Linked DNA regions of Homo sapiens: regions 2 and 3 are each linked to region 1. Evidence: promoter capture Hi-C in 16 types of primary human blood cells and fetal thymus (Javierre and others, 2016). All regions are on one chromosome and are shown on one strand. Each heading gives the region's core, a stretch centred on a gene start or on the middle of the fragment in contact. The rest is flanking DNA. Distances are from core to core; before and after follow the strand shown.

Region 1 (3,177 bases), core at 509-3,008:
GGAAGTGAGATTTCCACTAATAGGTATGAAGAATCTCTGAAAGTCACCAGCAAATCAGAGATGCCCAGCATCTTTGGAAAGTTCATTTGTAACTTCCTGAACTGAATGAATCCTAGGACACACAGTGTTGCTCAGAAGCACAGTGGCTAGAATCCTTCTTTCCCACAAGGGGCTGGAGAATACAACCAGGGAAGGAGGGCAGGTTTTTGCAGGGAACCCAAGGATAGTTAAGTATCTCCCTGGCCAGCCTGAGACTGGGAGGTCAAGAGCTGGGAGCAGATCTAACCCCATCCAAGGAGACTCAGAGGGGCTGCCCCAGGCCAACAGGCTAAGAACTTTCCCTGGATTCCAGGCTATTTCCAGAGCCTTGGGCCACTCACCTTGGGGAATCTTGCCACTGCCCTGGCAGGTGGGACAAGTCACGAAGCTGGCATCAGCAGTTCCTTCACAAGGCACACAGGAACAAAAAGACTTGCTGCTACCGGTGCTGGAGTAGTTGACAGCCTTGCTGCCAATGGCTGGTTTGGAGGACAGGATTGACTTGTTCTCATCCTCCCGCCAAGAGCCCAGCTGGGAAAACGTCTTACCCATTCTTCAGGGGCGGGGGTTTCACTAATGAGAAAAGACCAAAGTTCAGTGCTAAGCTTGTTAGCACTGACGCCAGATGTAATTTTGGTTTGAAGTTCTCAAGACTGGCAAGGAGCTTCACCACAGTTTAAGCAAGCTCAAGCCTAAGGAAGATAGGATGTGAAAAACTGGGTGGTCACATGGGACTCTCAGAAGTCTCAATGCATTTCGACTCCTTTCATTATTTTAAAAGAGACCAATCTGCCTACAAAAGGGAAAACAAAAGAAAAGCAGAAGTTACTTCACTTTAAGGAACTTCCATAAGTGATTGTCAGAGCATTTAATTTTTCTCTGGAAAAGTTGCTGAGCTGTCATTCAGTTTAAGGGAAGGAAGTTGGATAGGGCAGAAAAGAGATTCTTTGAATCAAGGAGAGAGGAGGCCAGACTGGTCACAGGTGTGGTTAAGACCCCTATCTAAAGAAGCCCTGGGAGAAAGCAGACACCTCACTGCTTTCTGAGGCGGGGTAAGAAAGCCTGAGGAGGGTCATAGTGATACCAGGGTCTGTCTTTCACTAGGAAAACTCAAGGCTAAATCTGGACTCTGTGTGACAGAACGAGGCCGGCAAGTGAGCCACACAGATCTTTCTGGGCTAAAATATAGGGATGCTCACCTTGTTCAGGTCTGGGATCCCAGGCTCCTCAGCCGCACGAGGGCGAGACTTCTGGAGTGCGTCTTTGGGGAGAAGGGCCTCTAAGGGCAGAGTGGGCTGGGCTGGGCTGAGCTGAGCTGGGCGGTGGTGGGGAGAAGCACCGCCTGGGGCCGGCAACCGGCCGGAGTCCTAGGGGAACGAATGTGCCGCACTGGAGAGTGGGGATAGTAAGGACGCTGACCTCCCCGAAGGGCCAAGCCGATTCCTGGGCTACATGGGGGCTCTGCCATGGGCCGACCGGGTGGAAGCGGACGGAGAAGGTGTGACTTCATTAAGGGAGGATTTCAAGTCCCACCACACACCCCTAGAGGCCGTTAGTCAAGCTTGGTACCCGTGCGGGGGGCGCCTGTGTGTTGGGCGAGGAGGCGGCAACAGGAGGTGTCTTGACCTCCGAAAGGTAAAGTAGGTATAAAGGGTCTAGGGAGGGCCTTACCCGCGGACGACTGCAGCGACAGAAACGGAAGAGAGTGGAATCGAAAATGCGGGAGCGAACACTCCCCTCAAGCTTTGACTCAGTGCCCAGGGAAGTCCCGCCCCAGCCCCTAAGGGCCCACCCCCCCGTCCCCCGGTCCGCCCCTTCGCCACGCAGCAGCCTGAGACGCTGCCAGCTCTTCAAACGTTACCCGAGGGCCCGGACGCTGCTTCCGCAAGGACTAGCCAGTCCGGGTAGGAATTTCCAAGAACATTTATTTCACCATTCTTTAGGTGGTTATGTACAAGTACATACATAACCAGGAGAGCAACCCGGGCCCTCCTGGCCCTCGATTATAAAACTCCGATGGTCAAGACAGGTCCCACCCATCAACCCAATTACACCCTGCCGCTCCACCTTCTACCCGGAAGCCCCGATTAAAACGTTTTAAATAATGAACGGCCTGGCTGGCTTGCAGTTTGAATCCTGGTTTATTTAAGTAGCATTCAGGAGTTATACTGTAAATAAACATCATTATGGCTAATGACTAATTAAAATCACCATTCATTACAAATACCAACCAGGTTAGATAATACTATTAACTATCTTTTCCCCTTCGGTCTGGGGTTCATATTCTTCCTTTTCTGGAAGTCATTTTCATGGATAAAATATTTAGCATTTTTTGTTACCTCTTCCTTCACCAACTGTACTCAACACACTTCTGTAAACAGAGTGAGAACCTGGGTTCATGGACAAGCTCTTTTCCACTTATCTTCGGGTTAAACCAAAACTTTTTCAGCAACTTTGCCCCTGTCCAAGTTTTGCAGAACACCAGCTGCCTCTTCCTGTTCTAGGCATTCTAGGGCTAGATACCTGTGAACGGACTTCAAGCATTAAAGAAGTCATCAGCATTTCCTATACCTCACACACACTCATTTGCCCACCCTGAACTTCACTGACATTAATTTAGGAGCCTGCCTTTTGCCTTTCACATGTTTCTATTTCCCCCACTGTACTGTAAAATAAGATCTGCCCTGACATTAAGAAAAAAGGCAACTGTTAAATTTACTTTTCCCTTTAAATAACGGGATTTTTTCCTTTTCTATAAGATTAGCAAAATATTTCACAATACCTATATTTTTTCCCTTAAATAAAAATGTATGCAAAATTACTATAATAGACATTGCTCAATAGGTGCTGGTAGGTTTATCAGCACACTCTTCCTCCTTTCATTGAAATGCGGAGATTCCCTTGAAGTTGGATACTCTTGAATGCACCATGGAGTCTTTAGAAAGCAACGGTGCCAATTATTAAGTATTGCAGGAAAATTACTTTCTCCTTGAGAGAGGAAGAGTAACAACATTTCTATCATGCTCTGGGTGTTATTTCAATGCCAAATAACTATGAAGCTTGAGGTGGATTACAGAAATTATGAGAATAAGAATTATGAGAATAATTCTTAAAAACAACTTCCGAGGTTAATGTCTT
Region 2 (3,177 bases), core at 1-2,500, 390 kb after region 1:
GTGCCAACAGCTTCACTCTGATTGGGGAGGCATCTGATGGCGGCACCATGGAGAACCTCAGCCGAAGACTGAAGGCAAGTCGGCCCCATTCCGGTGGCAAGCAGTAGGCCTGGCTGGGAGAGTGGGTAATTGAGCAGGAAGCATGGGGGAGGCCCTACCCTGACTCTCCCACACTTCCAGGTCACTGGGGACCTTTTTGACATCATGTCGGGCCAGACAGATGTGGATCACCCACTCTGTGAGGAATGCACAGATACTCTTTTAGACCAGCTGGACACTCAGCTCAACGTCACTGAAAATGAGTGTCAGAACTACAAGTGAGTGTCTCCAGAGCCAGGGCTCAGAGCTGTTACTGCTCTGAGACTGCTTGGCCCTTACCCAAGAGCCGTACTCCACTCAGGCAAATGGAGCTCTAGTAAGTATAGTCTGCCTGTGTCTTTGGCAGACGCTGTTTGGAGATCTTAGAGCAAATGAATGAGGATGACAGTGAACAGTTACAGATGGAGCTAAAGGAGCTGGCACTAGAGGAGGAGAGGCTGATCCAGGAGCTGGAAGACGTGGAAAAGAACCGCAAGATAGTGGCAGAAAATCTCGAGAAGGTCCAGGCTGAGGCTGAGAGACTGGATCAGGAGGAAGCTCAGTGAGTGCTCACCCTGTTCTATCTTCTCACACTCGAGGCTCCAGGAGAGGAAATGGCTTCCAGCTGAATGTGTCTGAATAGTTTGTAAACTAGTCAGCTGTCAGTCAGCAGCATGCCTGCCCCAGATCCTGCATATTGCTTCCATGCCCTTTTTCTAGAGGTTTGTTGGGAGAGTTACCTATGAAGAGTCAGCATGATTAAGTGAAAAAAGTATGTTGGTTAAATAGTGCAGAAACCAGAGCTCCAGTCTTGGCTCTGTCCTGTAGGGAATGGGCTCATTTGGATGAATCAGCCACTTTCTAGCCATCCTTAGCTGAAAAGATGAGCTAATTAGCCTACATTTGTTCCCTCCAAGCTTAAACATTTCATGGGGGCCAGGTATGGTCGTTCATATCTGTAATTCCAGCACTTTGGGAGGCCAAGGCAGAAGGATCACTTAAAGCCAGGATTTAAGGCCATCTGGGGCAATATCAAGTGAGACCCCATCTCTACAAAAATGAAAATTAAAAAAAAATTAGGCTGCTGTGGTAGACCTGTAGTCCTAGCAACTACTTAGGAGGCTGAAGTGGAGGATAACTTGAGCCCAGGAGTTTGAGGTTACAGTGTGCTGTGATCACACCTCTGCACTCCAGCTTGGGCAACAGAGTTGAGACCCTGTCTCAAAAAATAAAAACATTATAGATGTCCTTGACCTGAGAGAACCCTCTCTCTAGTGGAGGACACACAGTGTCCATACTAACTGAAGTTGTGGAAATGAAGGATAGAGAAAAGTCCATTTTTTTCACACAGTAGTATAACAAGTTTCACTGGAAGTGGGGTATAGTAACTATTTAAAGGACAGTAAGTGTATAGAAATGAAGCTTTAGAAGGCCAATTATGGCCAGTTCATGGAAGAAGCCACTGTTTTTTTGTTTTTTTTTTTTTTAGAAACAGAGTCTTACTCTGTCATCCAGGCTGGAGTGCAGTGGTGCAGTCATGACTCACTGCGGCCTTGACTTCCTACACCTAAGCAATCCTCCCGCCTCAGCCTCCCAAGTAGCTGGAACTACAGGCGCGCAACACCATACCTGGCTAATTTTTGTATTTTTTATAGAGATGGAGTTTCCCCATGTTGCCCAGGCTGGTCTTGAACTCTTGAGCTCAAGTGATCCACCTGCCTCAGCCTCCCAAAGTGCTGGGTTTACAGGCATAAGCCACCATGGCCAGCTGGAAAAAGCCACTGTTTTTTGTTTTTGATTTTGGTTTTTTTTTGAGACAGAGTCTCACTCTGTTGCCTAGGCTGGAGTGCAGTGGCATGATCTCAGTTGTCTGCAACCTCCACCTCCCAGGTTCAAGCGATTCTCCTACCTCAGCCTCCCAAGTAGCTGGGACTACAGGCGTGCGCCACCACGCCTGGCTAATTTTATTTTTTTAGTAGAGACGGAATTTCACCATGTTGGCCAGGCTGGCATCTAACTCCTGACCTCAGGTGATCTGCCCACCTCAGCCTCCCAAAGTGCTGGGATTACAGGTGTGAGCCACTGCACCCGGCCCAGAAGAAGCAGAAGCCACTCTTTTTTTTTTTTTTTTTTGAGACAGAGTCTCGGCTCTGTTGCCCAGTCTGGAGTACAGTGGTGTGATAGCTCACTGCAACCTCTGCCTCCTGGGTTGAAGCAATTCTGCCACTTCAGCCTCCCAAGTAGCTGGGACTACAGGTGTGCACCACCACGCCTGGCTAATTTTTGTATTTTTAGTAGAGACAGGGTTTCACCACATTGGCCGGACTGCTCTCGAACTCCTGACCTCAAGTTATCCACCCGTCTTGGCCTCCCAAAGTGCTGGGATTACAGGTGTGAGCCACCACGCCTGGCCCCAAGAAGCCACTCCTAACCCATTCACCTCACTTCTGAAAAAGATCAGAAATAAGAGGTTTTTTGCCCTGGTTTGGGAGAATTCTTTTTTCCTCCACCTTTTTGCATATGGGCAGCTGGAATTTGAGACATTTCTGTTCCTTCCAGGCAAAACAGCTAGGACATACATGTTCCTCAGAATGGGATCTATGCCAAATATAAAAGATGCGAGAGCTAGATGTAACGATGATCACTAAAGAATCGTTCATAGTGTGGTGAGAGAGAAACTTTAGCCCCCAAGCTAACAGCCTTCAATGGCCCCCTTGGCTGCTCACAGGTATCAGAGAGAATACAGTGAATTTAAACGACAGCAGCTGGAGCTGGATGATGAGCTGAAGAGTGTTGAAAACCAGATGCGTTATGCCCAGACGCAGCTGGATAAGCTGAAGAAAACCAACGTCTTTAATGCAACCTTCCACATCTGGTAATGAGAGCTAGGGGATGAGGAGCACTGCACATATCTAGACCTTAGCTGTTGACCACTAAGCCTGGGTGCCCACTTCCCACAAAAGAGGGACTGTAGGTTATCTTCACCCAACTAGGTTTCTTTCATTCATAGTGATGGGATAGGCACAGTAGGGATTGGAATTCTAGAGCTTGGTGACATCCGCCCTTCTAAAGAAAGGAAAAGGCCTGAGCCCTTCAGCC
Region 3 (3,177 bases), core at 255-2,754, 350 kb after region 1:
CCTGGCCATATTATGAATTACTATGCCATTGAAGGCCCCCTGCTCCTTACTGAAGGCTTTCTTCCTGTTCTTTAGAGCCTAATTTCTCTCCAGCTCATTGATTCCTCCCCATCCATTGTTCCACTGACCTACGGCAGAACTTGGGCTTGGGGCAGAACAGAAGGTAGCAGAAGCTTCCATGATGCTGGAGCTCCCAGAACATATTCTGGTCTTTTTCTGGTCAGAAGCTGAGTGGCATCCAGAATGTTTCCTGCACTTTACCTCCTGCCCTGGCCTGGGCTTCTGGCAAGCAGAAGTCACCCCTCCTCACTGCTTCTCATTGCCCCTCATTGAGAGAGAGAGAAGACAGGAGAGAGGGAAAGGGTGGGGTGTGTGTGTGTCAGGGAATTAACCGAGGTTTAACATTTCCTCAAAGATGTACAAGCATGAGAAGGCAAAAGGAGTTACTAGAGGCCACACCTGCTTCTCTGGATCTCAAGAACTGGAGAAAATTTCATCCCTGGTCCCATTCCTTAACCCACTTTACCCTACCCCCAACCTGTTCCCCACCAAAAAAAAAAGTGTCAGTAAAAAAAAAAAGTCAATTCCTGTTTGGGCCCATTTATTGTTTATTTTGAATAGGTAATACAGTCACATGGTTCAAAATTCAAAATGTACAAAAGGGTGTAAGTGTTAAGACCCTTCCCTCTCCTGTCCTCAACCTACTGGTTCCCCTCCCAAAAGTAATCAGTGTTACCCATTTATTCTGAATAGGCATACATAAGCAATTATGTGTTTATATTCTACTCCTTTCTGAAACACAAATGGGAAGTGCGCTATACACATTTCTGTGGCTTGCCTTTTTCACCTGAAGATTATTACATATTAGTATATAAAGACATACAATTATTTTTTAGCTGCATACTATTGTATTGTAAGGCTGTATCAGAATTGATTTAACCAGTCCTTTAGAGAAAAAAGTTTCTGTTGTTTCTCATCTCTTGCTATTTCTTTGTCCCCATCCCCAATCCAGACCTCAGGAGGGACAGCAGTGATGGGAATGGAGCCCAAGCCTGGACCAGGCCAGGCCCTGCCCCACCCAGGCCAGGCCCCTCCCCACTAGGCCAGACCCCCACCTCACCCAGGGCCCAGCTCATTCGCATGCCTGAATGTGATTGGACAGCCCCTCCTGGCTGGGTGGCTGGAGTTGTAGGGGCTTTGGCTTCTCATCTTTGATGCCCACCCTTTGTTTCCACTCCAGCCTCCCAAACAGGCTGTTGCAGAATACAGAGCCCTGGTACAAAATGGCCATTCTTCATTATCATTGCACCCCCAAATCACTTGAAATGCTAACTTGAGCTGCTGCTGTCACGATGACCATCCTCCTCTATAGAGAGCATGAGGCAGGCAGACACAAATGCACAGAAGCAGCTGTCCTGAAACACACCCAGCCCCAGGACAGGGGTAGGAGCAACTCCTACTCCCAATAAGCAACAGACACAAGGGAACGACACACAGGGATTGGCCACTCTGATTAGGGGTCCCGTGACCTTGAGACTTCCATAGGGCTGGAGAGGAGACGGAACTTGACTGAAAACTGAGGGCTGGGGGAGTACCAGGGGCTGGGACATAGGGATATCCCCTCAGGATTCGGGAGAAATTGCAGGATAGAAGAGAAGGCAGGAACAGGAGGAGGAGGAGGAAGTAGGTGAGAGAGAGGAAGACGAGAAGGAAAGGACCTGGATGAGAGGGAATGTGAGCAGAAGCATCCTTTCCAGCTCAGCTATGGACTTGCAGGACTGGCAACCCTACTCTGGGGTCTCCAGGGAATAGCCCCCTTTTAGAGTCCTTGGAGGTGGCCTAAAAAGATTCGGGAAAGCCAGACAGCAACAAAGGGAACCATCTAGGGAAGCCCTCGGCCACGGCTCCAGGCTGGGCCATGCCTGGCCTCTGTGGATGAGAACTCAGTACAGCTGGCATCAACAAGGTTCAGTGTCCCCTGTGTCAGGCATCACAGGGTCAGGAGGCTCCTGGCTCAGAGGCGGATGCGAGGGAGGGTAGTGGAAGAAAGAGAGTCCTGGCACAGGAAAGAGGGAACCAGGCTGCCGGCCCAGTGCCCAGCTGCTCCCCATCCCTCACACCCTGGCCCTGGAGCCCTTGGCCACATGCCCCATCCCAGGACCGCCTAGTTGTGAGAGAAGCCCCCGTGGGAGAAGGCAGGGAGGTCGGGGGCACAGGCAGCAGCCTGGGGCAGGCAAGCTAGGGGGTTGACCTCGCAGGCCCCAGCATCCTGGTCCCCTCGGAAGTAGATGGAGTCGGCAGAGTAGAAGGAGGGGTCTTCGTCAAAGAAGTTATAGGGTCGGAGGAAGAAGCCCACGCCGTTCCCCACAGTCACTGTGTTAGGAATGTCCTCTGCATGTGGGATATGCAGAAAACCAGCTGTCACCCAGGCCACCAAATCCTAGCAGGGGAGAAGAAAGAGGATCACGAGGTCTGGCTTTGCTGAGGACATGCCCTGGTAGGGATTCAGCTCACCAGCCCAAGGATCATGAGTCTTTAAACATTTTTTCCTGCTGGGTAGGAGTCAAAGCATAAGTAGTCCATTTCATATTAGGAACACCTGCTTCCCTGTCCCTGGCTTGCAGCCTCCATCTCTGACATTTCCCATCATATCGCCCATTGCCTATCTACCCCCAGAGGGTGACACCCACAGGCTACTTCAGCTCCTCTTCCCCTAACTCTCCAAGAGTTCCCCACAACTGAGGAAAGAAGGGTGGAGGAAAAAGAACCAGCGCTTGGGAAGCAGAACCAGGCCAACATTGTGAAATTCATCAAGTCAGGAATGGGAGAAGCTTCAGATACAGGAGATGTCATTTTCCCTGGTAACTTCCATCCCTCCTGAGTCCTGGAGCCTGGAAAGGACTCAGTCCATGAAACTGGAACTAAGAGGGCTCTAAGATCTCAAGGACAGGCCCAGGGCCTCACTCAGTGTCTGCATATGGACACCCAGCTCAGGAAGGTTCCCTCAAAGGATAATGATCAGATATACTGAAGTGCAGAAGGCAGGAATCAGCACCACCCCTGAGAAGTGCAGGTGGTTTTCAGGGACCCTCCCAAGAGAAAGCAAGGCTCATCCTGTACCCTCTACCCCGGCCAGCTGACCTTTCCAGCAATGGTCTCATTGTTGATGAAGTCACT

Evidence for each region. Contacts are between HindIII fragments. The CHiCAGO score rates a contact against its expected background, and 5 or more counts as called.
Region 2: a fragment that was not itself captured here is called in contact with the fragment with the promoter of TMEM106A in region 1 in 2 of 17 cell types (total B cells and M1 macrophages); the score reaches 5.3 in total B cells.
Region 3: a fragment that was not itself captured here is called in contact with the fragment with the promoter of TMEM106A in region 1 in 1 of 17 cell types (naive B cells); the score reaches 5.2 in naive B cells.

The regions. Positions count from the first base shown.
Region 1 is chr17:43,210,456-43,213,632 of GRCh38, reverse strand. It overlaps TMEM106A (transmembrane protein 106A), which reads right to left and starts at 1,758. Exons shown (of 9, transcript NM_145041.4): 1 at 1,711-1,758; 2 at 1,239-1,406; 3 at 381-612. The coding sequence starts at 591. NBR1 (NBR1 autophagy cargo receptor) reads right to left here. Exons shown (of 21, transcript NM_005899.5): 21 at 1,945-3,177. The HindIII fragment of the contact is 182 bases long and covers 1,603-1,784 here.
Region 2 is chr17:42,815,684-42,818,860 of GRCh38, reverse strand. BECN1 (beclin 1) reads left to right here. Exons shown (of 12, transcript NM_001313998.2): 5 at 1-74; 6 at 181-317; 7 at 446-640; 8 at 2,807-2,953. Among named protein-coding and RNA genes, the nearest start is that of MIR6781, 6.7 kb to the left of the region's middle. RefSeq lists an enhancer at 1-1,081. The HindIII fragment of the contact is 505 bases long and covers 998-1,502 here.
Region 3 is chr17:42,855,538-42,858,714 of GRCh38, reverse strand. AOC3 (amine oxidase copper containing 3) reads right to left here. Exons shown (of 4, transcript NM_003734.4): 3 at 3,142-3,177; 4 at 591-2,440. The coding sequence ends at 2,165. Among named protein-coding and RNA genes, the nearest start is that of AOC3, 5.9 kb to the right of the region's middle. The HindIII fragment of the contact is 2,658 bases long and covers 176-2,833 here.